Linked DNA regions of Homo sapiens: all the other regions are linked to region 2. Evidence: promoter capture Hi-C in human tissues and cell types (Jung and others, 2019). All regions are on one chromosome and are shown on one strand. The core of a region is centred on a gene start or on the middle of the fragment in contact, and the rest is flanking DNA. Distances in the headings are between cores, read along the strand shown. Region 1 overlaps RTF1 (RTF1 homolog, Paf1/RNA polymerase II complex component). Region 2 holds the start of VPS18 (VPS18 core subunit of CORVET and HOPS complexes). Region 3 overlaps MGA (MAX dimerization protein MGA).

What was found. The method cuts DNA at HindIII sites, captures the fragments that hold promoters and counts their contacts. A contact is called where the count stands out against the background at its distance.
Region 1: a contact is called between a fragment that was not itself captured here and the fragment with the promoter of VPS18 in region 2, in 1 of the 25 tissues and cell types used here (pancreas).
Region 3: a contact is called between a fragment that was not itself captured here and the fragment with the promoter of VPS18 in region 2, in 1 of the 25 tissues and cell types used here (spleen).

What each region holds. Positions count from the first base shown.
Region 1 is chr15:41,423,405-41,428,213 of GRCh38, forward strand. All of the region lies in intron 1 of RTF1 (RTF1 homolog, Paf1/RNA polymerase II complex component), which reads left to right. Among named protein-coding and RNA genes, the nearest start is that of RTF1, 8.7 kb to the left of the region's middle. The HindIII fragment of the contact is 8,350 bases long and covers 1-4,809 here.
Region 2 is chr15:40,893,158-40,897,380 of GRCh38, forward strand. VPS18 (VPS18 core subunit of CORVET and HOPS complexes) reads left to right here and starts at 1,293. Exons shown (of 5, transcript NM_020857.3): 1 at 1,293-1,702; 2 at 2,781-2,922. The coding sequence starts at 1,612. RefSeq lists a silencer at 1,009-1,178 and an enhancer at 2,019-2,108. The HindIII fragment of the contact is 19,251 bases long and covers 1-4,223 here.
Region 3 is chr15:41,664,727-41,668,924 of GRCh38, forward strand. MGA (MAX dimerization protein MGA) reads left to right here. Exons shown (of 24, transcript NM_001400225.1): 2 at 4,102-4,198. The coding sequence starts at 4,169. Among named protein-coding and RNA genes, the nearest start is that of MGA, 6.4 kb to the left of the region's middle. The HindIII fragment of the contact is 4,748 bases long and covers 106-4,198 here.

The DNA.
Region 1 (4,809 bases), core at 581-3,080, 530 kb after region 2:
CTCTGTCACCCAGGCTGGAGAGCAATGGCACGCTGGGCTCACTGTAGCCTCCGCCTCTAGGTTCAAGTGATTCTCCTGCCTTAGCCTCCCGAGTAGCTGGGATGACAGGCACGCGCCACCACTCCCGGCTAATTTTACATTTTTATTAGAGATGGGGTTTCTCCATGTTGGTCAGTCTGGTCTCAAACTCCCGACCTCAGATGATCCACCCACCTCGGCCTCCCAAAGTGCTGGGATTACAGGGGTGAGCCACCACGCCCAGCCCTGGGAGCTTTAACAGTGAGGCTTTTAGGAAAAATACAAAACTGATCTTCAGACACAGGTCATATTGGTGTATTTATTTTTATTTATTTATTTATTTATTTTGAGATGGAGTCTCACTTTGTTGCCCAGGCTGGAGTGCAGTGGGACGATCTCAGCTCACTGCCACCTCCGCTTCCCGGGTTCAAGCAATTATCCTGCCTCAGCCTCCCAAGTAGCTGGGATTACAGGTATGCACCACCATGCCCGACTAATTTTTGTATTTTTAGTAGAGATGGGGTTTCACCATGTTGGCCAGGCTGGTCTCAAACTCCTGACCTCAAGTGATCCGCCCTCCTTGGCTTCCCCAGGGTGCTGGGATTTCAGGCATGAGCCACCGCATCCGGCCTGATTGTTCATCGTTCAACAGATGTATTAGACAGCGTTAGACACTAGAGCTATTGGGTGAACAAAATGGAAGCAGTTTCCACCTTCAAGGAGTGTAAAGTGGAATGAGAGAGAGATGAGGTGGGGAGATTGCTCAGAGAGAGTAATTTCCTTACAATTGCACTACAGGCCATGAAGCAAGGACAAGAATACTGTGGAAATATTAACCAGGGACCCTATTCTAGCCTGATGAGAGTGACATTGAAACAGACCTGGAATATGTGTTAAGGAGAAGCAGATTAGAAGACTGAAGAGTAAAGGGAAGAGTGTTGAATGTTCATGGTTGAGGCACCAGCATATATAAAAGAAATGAGACAGGAAGGACCTCGAACCCTTATGAAACTGAAAGAAGCACAGAGTGAGTAACATAAACTAGTTGCATAGTTGGAGAGAGAATAGTACAAATGAAACTGTAGAGGTAGATTCTGTTTTGACCCTTTGAGGATGGAGAAGTCAGTTTACGGACTACACTCAGCAGTAAAAATAAAATTGAATTGATAGAAAACATCAAATGTGTCATACATAGTAAATATAAGTGATGAAATTTGTGTGTCTCATATGTACATGTAGATGTATACTGGGTTGTGAGGTATAATTTATCTTCCTGTGGGCTGCGTTAAAAAGAGAAAAGTTTTTTGGCCAGGCGCAGTGGCTCACGCCTTTAATCCCAGCACTTTGGGAGGCCGAGGTGGGTGGATCATATGAGGCCAGGAGTTCGACCAGGCGGGCCAACATGGCGAAACCCCATCTCTAGTAAAAATACAAAAATTAGCCAAGTGCGGTGGCACACACCTGTAGTCCCAGCCACTGGTGAGGCTGAGGCATGAGAATCCCTTGAACCTAGGAGGCGGAGGTTGCAGTGAGCCGAGATCACCACTGTATTAGCCTGGGTGACAGAGAGACTCCGTCTAAAAAAAACAAAAGAAAAAAAGAAAAAAATTTAAAGCCACTGGAGGGCGTCAGCCTCCCCGGTGGCTGGGACTGCAAGTGTGTGCCACCACACTTGGCTAATTTTTGTTTTTTATTTTTGAGACGGAGTCTCGCTCTTTTGCCCAGGCCGGACTGCAGTGGCGCTGTCTCTGCCACTGCAAGCTTCGCCTCCCGGGTTCATACCATTCTCCTGCCTCAGCCTCCCGAGTAGCTGGGACTATAGGCGCCTGCCACTGTGTCCGGCTAATTTTTTTTTTGTATTTTTAGTAGGCACGGGTTTCACCATGTTAGCCAGGATGGTCTTGATCTCCTGACCTCATGATCTGCCCGCCTCGGCCTCCCAAAGTGTGCTGGGATTACAGGTGTGAGCCACCGCGCCTGGCCAATTTTTGTATTTTTAGTAGAGACTTTGGAGTTTATTCTGAGAGTAATAGGAAGCCATTGAAGGATTTTAAGTTGGAGAAGATTTTCAGATTTGCCTTACCCAGACTATTGTGGAGAGTAATATGGAGGGGGACACTAATGAAGTGGCAGAGAGAGGAGTCCAGATGAGAGATGATGGAGAACATAAGTTCCATTAGAATGGAAGCGCCAGGAGGGTAACCGTATGTGTTCACTATGCTGTCCCTGGCATCTAGAGCAGTGCCTATATGCAGTTGGCACCCAGTCAGTATTTATTAAATGAAGGACTGACTTGGATTGATATGGTTGTTATAGAGATGACAGATAGTGGAATTGGTTGGACATGATGTTCAGTATGTAGAACTAAAAGGCCTTGAAGACTGAGGACTGATTAGATGTTAGGATGAGAAGAGGAGTATTTAGGATTGATGCCAGGCACTGGCATGAGATGGGGAGTGCTGGAGGAGCAGGTTTAGAGGTGAAGATCCTGCATTCAGTCTGGGATATGTGGAGTTCGAAGTGACTATGAGATGTCTAAGTGGAGACATCAAGTAGGTAGTTGAAAATAACACTTGAGGGCCAGGCACAATGGCTCATGCCTGTAATCCCAGCACTTTGGGAGGCTGAGGTGGGAGGATTGCTTGAGCTCAGGAGTTTGAGATCAGCCTAGGCAACATGATGATGAAACCTGATCTCTACAAAAAAAAAAAATTTTTTTTGGAGGTGGAGTCTCGCTCTGTTGCCTAGGCTGGAGTGCAGTGACACCATCTTGGCTCACTGCAACCTCCGCCCTGGGTTCAAGCGATTCTCGTGCCTCAGCCTCCTGAGTAGCTGGGATTACAGGCACATGCCACCATGCCCAGCTAATTTTTTTGATTGTTTGTTTTTATTTTTTTTTTTGGGATAGAGTCTCGCTCTGTCGCCCAGGGTGGAGTGCAGTGGCACGATCTCTGCTCACTGCAACCTCCCCCTCCTGGATTCAAGCGATTCTTCTGCCTCAGCCTCCCGAGTAGCTGGGACTACAGGCGTGCGCCACCATGCCTGACTAATTTTTTGTATTTTTAGTAGAGACAGGGTTTCACCATATTGGCCAGGCTGATCTCGAACTCCAGACGTCATGATCTGCCCACCTCGGCTTCCCGAACTGCTAGGATTACAAGCGTGAGCCACTGTGCCTGGCCATTTTTTTGTATTTTTAGTAGAGATGGGGTTTTTCCATGTTGGCCAGGCTGGTCTCGAACTCCTGACCTCAGGTGATCCACCCCGCCCCCCCCCCCCCCCGCCCCCCCCCCCCGCCGGCCTCCTGAAGTGTTGGGATTACAGGCGTGAGTCTACTGTGCCCAGCCGCTACATATATATGTGTGTGTGTGTGTGTGTGTGTGTGTGTGTGTGTGTGTGTGTGTAATTTTTGTTTGTTTGTTTGTTTGTTTGTTTTTTAGGCAGAGTCTCACTCTGTTGCCCAGGCTGGAGCGCAATGGTGTGATCTCGGCTCACTGCAACCTCCACCTCCCAGGTTCAAGCAATTCTCCTGCCTCAGCCTGCCAAGCAGCTGGGATTACAGGGGCCCACCACCACGCCCAGCTAATTTTTGTATTTTTAGTAGAGATAGGGTTTCACCATGTTGGCCAGGCTGGTCTTGAACTCCTGACCTCGTGATCCACCCACCTTGGCCTCCCAAAGTGCTGGGACTACAGGCATGAGCCACCATGCCTGGTCTACAAATTTTTTTTTTTTTTTTTTTTTTTTGAGACAGAGTCTTGCTCTGTTGCCCAGGCCGGAGTGCAGTGGTGCGATCTCGGCTCACTGCAAGCTCCGCCTCCCGGGTTCACGCCATTCTCCTGCCTCAGCCTCCTGAGTAGCTGGGACTACAGGCACCCGCCACCATGCCCGGCTAATTTTTTGTATTTTTAGTAGAGACGGGGTTTCACCGTGTTAGCCAGGATGGTCTGGATCTCCTGACCTCGTGATCCACCCACCCTGGCCTCCCAAAGTGCTGGGATTACAGGCGTGAGCCACTGCGCCCGGCCCTACAAAATTTTTAAAAAATTAGCTGAGTGTGGTGGCATGCGCCTGTGGTCCCAGCTATTCATTCAAAATAAAAGCTACATAAGCTGGGTGTAGTGGTGTGTGCCTGTAGTCCCAGCTACCCAGGAGGCTGAGATAGGAGGATCACCTGAGCTTAGGAGGTTGAGGCTGCAGAGAGCCATGATCACACAACTGCACTCCAGCCTGGGTGACAGTGAGACCCTGACTCAAATAATAATAACAGTAATAATAATTATGCCGATGCTCGCCTGACAGAGTAGGCACTTAATAAATTTTTGTTGAATAAGCAGATGCTACTTGGCATACCTATGGTGTCAAGTTTTATTTTTTTTTGAAATGGAGTTTTGCTCTTTGTTGCCCAGGCTGGAGTGCAGTGGGGCAATCTCAGCTCACTGCAACCTCCGCCTCCCGGGTTCAAGTGATTCTCCTGTCTTAGCTTCCCAAGTAGCTGGGATTACAAGTGTCCGCCACCACACCTGGCTAATTTTTGTATTTTTAGTAGAGACGGGGTTTCACCATGCTGGCTAGGCTGGTCTTGATCTCCTGACCTCAGGTGATCTGCCTGGCTTGGCCTCCCAAAGTGCTGGGATTACAGGCATGAGCCACCATGCCTGGCCGCCTTCTTTTTTTTTTAATTTTATTTTTAGAGCTGGGGTCTCACTGTGTCACCCAAGCTACATGGTGGGACATTTTCTAACTTGGTTACATTGAGATTACTTGAAGAGATAAAGGACACTGTCACTT
Region 2 (4,223 bases), core at 43-2,542:
GCCCAGATAGCCCTCAGTGGGGCTGGTGAGAGTCACAGTTCTCCGCACGTGGCCAGGAAGTTGAGCAAGAGTAACCCAACCACATAAGGTATGGTGCAAACCTGGAAACTTCTGAGAGCAAAGGGATGCTCTTAGTTGTTAGGCGGGGGCCGCCCAGCAGAGCCAGGACGGTGGCGACCCTAGTCCAGAGCCTTCCACTTTAGCAAGGTAGAATCCAAGGGCCCCAGAAGGGAACAGACTCCATCTGGGTCGCCTAAGCAGGTGAGAGAGGAAAACCCAACCACAGTCGCGCCCCAGCCCTCGCAGGTCCCTGGCTGAGGACTCCCCTCTCCACCTCAGGCTGGGCGGCCCCCGCCTTCACGCTTGCTCCCACTTGTCCCTCGTTCTTGCTAGGCTTGGCAGGTATTTGTTCCCTGCTCCTTCACGCTCTCAGTGCCGTGGCCACGTCGCTGGGTACGCCCCACCAGGCAAGAGACATTTTCCGTCTTGTTCTCTGCCACGTCCCCAGAGCCTGGAACAGTGCTTGGCACAGAGTGGACGCTCATTCGTGGAGTAAGTGCCTGATGGATAATCCATCACTTGCTTTTCTAGTATGAATGGTCTATTTACGGGTCCAGCGCCCCTGCTGGCTTACGACCTTTTCCAGGGCGGGGAGGGGCTGTCCTCATCTCTGTGACCCCAGCGCCCAGCCCAAGGCCTGGCACAGAGTAAGTGCTCAACCACATTTTGGTGAATGAGTGAATGGAAGCGGCCCAGCAACCCTGAGCCAAGGAGCCACTGTGGGGCAGGTCAGGGCGGTTCCTGGCACAGGGCTTCCCACTAGCCTGGCCACCAGCTCTGCGGTCTCCTGGAAGCTGGGGGGCCTTTGGGTAAGGGAGAAGAGTGGCCAGGAGTTGTCTGCGTGTGCCCTGTGACGGTGGGATAGAGACAGCGATTGGATTGAGGAACGGGAGGTTCCCCGAGGCTGTTTAGAGAGGCGGGAGCGGGAGCTGGTCAGGGAGGCTGGACAGACCACCCGAGGGAGCGGAGCTTGGGCACGAAAGCCAAAACTGGGCGGCGCGGGGCGGGTGGGGAAGGCCGGCTGAGAAAGCCGGGATTGCCTCCTGGTGTCAAAGCTCGGAACTGCAGCAGGATCCTGGGGGCGGGGCTTGTGTTCAGCAGCACTCGCCACGCGCCCAGCCCTCAGCCCTCGTCTCGCCTTCTGCTGGCTGGCCCGGCGACGTTGTGCGCCAGCGTACGCGGGGCTCTGAGAACCCGGAAGTTACGTTTTAGGCCCGCGTCACGGGGGCGGGAGTCAGCTGAGCTGCCGGGGCGAGGTTGGGATCACCTGGCACCGGCTGAAGGGAGCCTGTGATTTTTTTGTAGCGGGGGCGGGGAGTAAGGTGCAAGACTGCGCCAGATTCAAGGACGAGGGCTGCCCGATTATCTCGCTGCATAAGGCAAGAGCAAGAGGATCCTCAGGATTTTAAAGAGGAGGCGACGGCTGCAGGTTCCCAGGATCTGTCAGAGGCTGGGGAGTTACAGCTTCCATTCTGGGGCGACGGGGACCCCGGGGGGGTAGCCCTTTTGTAATCCCCAGGCCCCGGACAAAGAGCCCAGAGGCCGGGCACCATGGCGTCCATCCTGGATGAGTACGAGAACTCGCTGTCCCGCTCGGCCGTCTTGCAGCCCGGCTGCCCTAGCGTGGGCATCCCCCACTCGGGTAAGGAAGAGGAGGGTGCCGCTGCCCCTTTCGGCTCTCCTAGCATTTGCGTGGGAGCAGCGAGGAGGGCAGCTCCAAGAGCTCGGGGTCATCCCCTGGGCCGTGCCTTCCGGGTCTAGGCCCCTGATTCTCCTCAGGCTCTCTTGGCCCCCAGCTGGTGGATAGTCGAAGTTTGAAAGAGCAACGGGAGCTGCCGCGTGATCTAGGCTCTACCGCTAGGGTCCTTTTGAGAGGGAATTGGGGCCCAGATAAGGAATTACTCACCTACAGGGCGCAGTTGGGCTGTTGGGAGAACTTAGAATGGGCTCCCGGCTTCTGCTGATGCTTTTCCCACCAGGCCCCTTCTGGAGGTGGGAGGGAAGGAATGGACAAAGAAAGTGGTGAAGGCGGAGTATTGCAGAGGAAGAAGGGAGGGTCCCAGAGGGAATTTTGTCGCTGAACGGGGAAAATGGAGATGAAATCTTTTTGGCCTTGGCTATAGCTGGGTGCAGCCTGGAGTTTGGGGACGTTTTTGTAGAAAGTAGTGAGTCTCCAGGAGAATGAGGGCATAGGGAGCCCTGGGGAACTGTTCCAGTGAGTGGAGTTAACGAATTGGAGCTGCTTTCACTCTAGTCTTTACCTTCATTCAATGCTCAAAATATCCCAGCACTTGCCAACTCTACACTGAGGCTCATTACCGCATGGGCAGGGAGGGGGGCAGAGAATGGGGCTATACTACTTCAGTTAAGCTGGGATTGCTGGGCCAAAGACCTGATAAGGGAGAATACCCAGACCACCAGTCCCGTCCCACCTCCACGCAGCCCCATTACCAGTGGGAGCAGGTATATCATGCTGTGACAGCATCTTAAGGGTTCAAAGAATCAACCCCTCACTGCTGTCAGAGTGTGGAAAGAGCTCCAGACCTCTATTGTAAAGGTGACCAGCAAACGACTTGATATCAAACTATTTGTTAACCAAGGTCCTGGGGATAGGAATATGTCAGGAAAGTGGCGAGGAGCACTGTGGTGTTTTTTCTGCCTCTCCTTGCCCTTCACCTGTCTCTTCCACAGCTAATCTTCTTGTCATTCCTTACCTGTAGGGTATGTGAATGCCCAGCTGGAGAAGGAAGTGCCCATCTTCACAAAGCAGCGCATTGACTTCACCCCTTCCGAGCGCATTACCAGTCTTGTCGTCTCCAGCAATCAGCTGTGCATGAGCCTGGGCAAGGATACACTGCTCCGGTAATCAAGAGCTCACAGAGCTTAGGAGTAGGGACTAGAGAGGTGTTTGGGGACTGTTAACTCACTGGGCCTTTCTTCTATTCCAGGCAAGTAAAGCAGTGAATTTGGAGTTTTCAGGAAATATCCTATCCCTTTCCAAAGAGAACCAATACAGGGTAGTGGTTAAGTATCTGGCCTGGCAGGGCATGGTGGCTCACACCTATCATCTCAGCACTTCGGGAGGCCAAGACAAGAGGATCACATGAAATCAGCAGTTTGAGACCAGCCTGGGCAATATAGTGAGACCCCCGTCTCTACCAAAACAAATTTTTAAAAATTAGCTAGGTGTGATGGTGCAGTCCCAACTACTGGGGAGGCCGAGGCAAGAGGATCACTTGAGCCCAGGAGTTCAAGGCTGCAGTGAGCTGTGTTTGCACCACTGTACTCCTGTCTCTTTAAAAAAAAAAAAAAGTCAGGTGCAGTGGCTCACACCTGTTATCCCAGCACTTTGGGAGGCTGAGGAGGGTGGATCACCTGAGGTCAGGAGTTCGACACCAGCCTGGCCAACATGGTGAAACGCTGTTTCTACTAAAAATACAAAAGTTAGCCGGGCGTGGTGGCAGGCGCCTGTAATCTCAGCTACTGGGGAGGCTGAGGCAGGAGAATTGCTGGAACCTGGGAGCCGGAAGTTGCAGTGAGCTGAGATTGCACCATTGAACTCCAGCCCAGGCGACAACAGTGAGACTCCATCTCAAAAAAAAAAAAAGGAAAAGGAAAAAAAAAAAAACTGTTTAGGAGTGTAGACTTAAGAGTATTAGAGTATTGATTAGAGCATTCTTGTGGTGGGAAAAACTGGATCCATGCTGAATGCTCATCAATAGGAAAATGGTGATTAAACTGCAATTCAGCCACAAAATAGAATATAATGCAGTTGTTTAAAAAAATGAATTATCCTGGCTGGGCGAGGTGGCTCACGCCTGTAATCCCAGCACTTTGGGAGGCTGAGGCAGGCAGATCACCTGAGGTCGGGAGTTCAAGACCAGCCTGGCCAACATGGAGAAACCCCTTCTCTACTAAAAATATAAAATTAGCAGGGTGTGGTGGCAGGTGCCTGTAATCCCAGCTATTTGGGAGGCTGAGGCAGGAGAATGGCTTGAACCCGGGAGGCAGAGGTTGCAGTGAGCCGAGATCATGCTCACTGCACTCCAGCCTGGATGACAAGAGCAAGACTTTGTCTGAAAAAAAAAAAAAGAGTTATCCTGGAAAGCTGGGTTTGGGGGTAAAAACAAAAAAAGTTAGAGCTATATCGATTGACTAGTGGA
Region 3 (4,198 bases), core at 1,230-3,729, 770 kb after region 2:
TGAATTATACATCATTGTAGAGGTATTTTTTTTTTGCCAGTTCTTTAAGCTTTAATATTTTACCTTATTTGTGACTTCCGTTTAGTTTTGTTTTGTCAGTCTCTGATAGGTATCGCCTAAGTGTGTTAGTTTTAGAAAACCAATCAACTTCATAGGTAAAAGCTTGAGGCAGCTTTTGAAAAGAATCACTGTACATTTTATCTCTTTTAAAAATAAACTTCACATCAGAGGAGAGATTTTTTGTTGTTGTTGTTCCTGACCTTTCCTGATATTAGTGCTTTAGTGTTGGGAAGTGAATTTCTATTTTTATCTCTAGTCATAATAGGAAACAATAGTAAACCTTTTGAAGTCGTGATTTTAAAAATATCTATTATCTGTAGACTAACAGATATTTTAAGCTTTGGAGCTGTATGACCAATCTTGTAAGAAGAGGTAAAATTCAGATTAGGTGCTTTTGCTGCTCATCATTAGCTCTGATGAAAGGTAAAATACTTTTTAATTATAATGAAGAAGACTAATAAGTGGCTGAATTTGATTAAGATTACTGACCCACTTACACAGGAGTGGTGGTGATGTAGCATCTTCCTTTTTGTATAAAAACTGGAAGCTGTAGCTTTAATTTGGCATATGAGTTCGGTTGATTTTAGCAATCAGATTTCGTTTTGGTTTTTTTTTTTTGAGACAGGGTCTCACTCTGTCATCTAGACTGGAGTGCAGTGGCACCATCACAGCTCACTGCAGCCTTGGCCTCCCCACCCCCAGGCTCGAGGGATCCTCTCACCTCAGCCACTCAAGTAGCTGGGACTACAGCTACACACCATTGTAGAGATGGAGTCTCACTGTGTTTTCCAGGTTGGTCTCAAACTCCTGGGCTTAAGCGATCCTCCTGCCTCAGCCTCCCAACGTGCTGGCATTATAGGCATGAGCCACCATGGCCGGCCTCATTTCTTTATTATAACTTTTTATTGAGATATAATTCACATAACATATAATTCATCATTTTAAAGTATACACCAAAAAGAAATCCCACACCCATTAGCAGTTAGTCCCAGTTACCCCTTCCCCTGAAACCACTAATCTACTTTGTTTCTCTAGATTTGCCTGTGTTGGACATCTCATATAAATGGAATCATACAATATATGTGACCTTTTTCTTTATAACCTTTAATAATTAACTAATTTTAACTTTATTTTTTATTTTTTTAAAGAGACGGGGTCTCACTCTGTCTCCTAGGCTGGAGTGCAGTGATATGGTTATGGCTCACTGCAACCTGAACTTCCAGGGCTGCTGAAGGTGTCCTCCTGCCTCAGCCTCCTGGCCACCATACCTGCTATTTTTTTTTTTTTTTTGGTAGAGACTGACTGGCTATTTTGACCAGGCTGGTCTTGAACTCTTGACCTCAAACGTTACTCCCACATGGGCCTCCTAAAGTGATGGAATTACCGGTGTGAGCCACTGCACCTGCCCACCTGGCCTGTGTTTTAGTTTTTAAAGGTTGTGTGTTCACAAGACACAAAATTTACAAAGTGTAAAAGGGTATCTTTTCCAAGTCATCAAGTTTTCCTTGGATATGACCAATACTACTGTTTTCTTTTCTGTCTTTCCAGAGATAGTCTGTGTAAAGCAAATATGTACATGTTCTTTTTCATTCTTTGGCTTTTTATTTATTTTAAAGACCGAAATACTGTCTATTTCTTTGATTTTAAAAAGGAAAAATCTTTTACAAGGGTTGAAAAACTACCTATCAGGTACTATGTTCACTGCTTGGATGATGGGATCATTAGAAGCCCAAACCTTATATTATGCAGTAGACTCATGTAAACAAACCTGCACGTGTTCTCCCTGTCTGAAGTTTAAGAGGTACAATAAAAAACTTTTAAAAGATGTGTGGCATAATTTACAACTCTTCTGAACATTTTACGCTTAATATATCTTGTAGATACTTTTTGCATGCATTCATTAAGCTTATACATTCTCTTTTGTGACTGTTAACATTCCACTCTATGGATGTGTCATCATTTGTTTTACCATTTTAAGGACTTCTCTCTTCCTGTCTAGTCTTTTGCTGTTATAAGTGGGAATGCAGGGGATAATCTTGTATAGATATCATTTATCACAGGTGTGTGTATTTAAAATAAAGTCCTATAGTGGGTTTTAACAGTGAATTAAGAAAACTTAAAGTCCTGGGAACAATTCTTTGTCATAGGATGATATATGGATTTGTACTTTTGATATTTTCAAGTTGCCCTCTCTTAGAGATTCTATTATTTTATACTCCCAGTAACTGCTTAGGGGAGAATGCTGGTTGACCTAACCCTTTCCAGCACTACCAGGCTTTGATTTTTGCCAGTCTGATAAGTAAAAAAACAGTATCTCAAGATGACTTTAATTTGCTTTCCTCTTAACTATGTACATATTCATAGCCATTTGCGTTTATTATCCTTTACTCATTTTTCTGTTAGGTATTTGGTCTTGTTGATTTGTAGGAAGCCTTTAAAAATTATTATTACTGTTAATGTATTTTTATTTTTTTTTTTGAGTCAGAGTCTCGCTCTGTCACCCAGGCTGAAGTGCAGTGGTGCCATCTTGGCTCGCTGCAACTCCACCTCCTGGGTTCAAGCAATTCTCTTGTCTTAGCCTCCCGAGTACCTGGGATTATGGGCGCACACCACCATGCCTAGCTAATTTTTTTATTTTTAGTAGAGACAGGGTTTCACCATGTTGGCCAGGCTGGTCTTGAGCTCCTGACCTCAAGTGATCTGACCTCCTTGGCCTCCCAGAGTGCTTGGATTACAGGCGTGAGCCACTGCTCCCCCGCCGCTATTATTTTTTAATAGAGACGGACTTTCACTACGTTGGACAGGCTGGTCTGGGACTCCTGACTTCAAGCAATCCTCCTGCCTTGGCCTCCCAAAGTGCTGGGATTATAGGTGTGAGTCACCATGTCCAGCCCCCTTTTTATATTAGGGAAAGGAGTTCTTTATAAGTTGCAAATACCTTTTCCTGGTTAGTTTGCTTTTTGATTTTGCTTAAATGATTTTGCCAGATTAAAAAATTTACAGAATATTAAATTTTATTTTATTTTTATTTCTTTGAGACGGAGTCTTTCCCTGTCACCCAGGCTGGAGTGCAGTGGCGTGATCTTGGCTCAGTGCACCTTCTGCCTCCTAGGATCAAGTGATTCTCATGCCTCAGCCTCCTGAGTAGCTGGGACTACAGGCGTGCACCACCACACCAGGCTAATTTTTTAATTTTTAATAGAGATGGGGTTTCGCCATGTTGGCCAGGCTAGTCTCGAATTCCTGGCTTTAAATGATCCACTGGCCTCAGCCTCTCAAAGTGCTGGGATTGCAGGTGTGAGCCACCACACCTGGCATCATATAGTATTAAATTTATCACTTTTTTTTTTTTTGGCCTTACTGGTTTTAGATTTTGTGTCTTATCAAAAAACTTTTCTCAGGATTTAGGAATAAAAAAATTAAATATTAGAGTCATCTGGAATTTATTTCAGTGTAAGGTCCATTGAGTTCCAGTGATTTGTCATGGCTTCTTTAAACGTGTGTACTAAGAAGTTAGATAGCTTTTTACTTATTTATGGAACCATGTCTTCTGAACCATATGAAGAACTAATTCTGTACAATTAGCTCTTTGGGATGAAAATGGAACTTTACTTATTTAATTTACTCATCACTGGGGAACTTGCTATATAAAGGAATCTTCTGGTAAATTCATAAAGTGTTAGGATGCTTTAAAAATGCATAACCTTCAAATTTAACTTTTTAATTTTGTATACTTTTTTAATAATGAATATACTCTTTTGTTTCTTTGTGTGAGATTATAGTATTTATAGTGAATTGTTAGAGGATTAGGATATAAGCACCTTAACTAATTAGATTAAAATGAACTTTAAAAAATGATTAGATATTCCAGAGTAAATATTCTTACTGTGATTGAAAGAAAAGCTTAGAAGCAAAGTCTTAGAAGAATTTAGGAATATTTTGGGGATAACATAATCGTTCTTGTATTTTTGTTCAAGAAATAAATACTCACTTGATTAAAGGGTGTTTTTTGTTTTTGGTTTTTTTTTGCTTGTTTCTTAGGATGGGAAGGCCATTGTGACTATGTGGTGATTACAGTTGTCTTACTACTGAGTTTCCTACTGAAATCATGGAGGAGAAACAGCAGATTATATTGGCT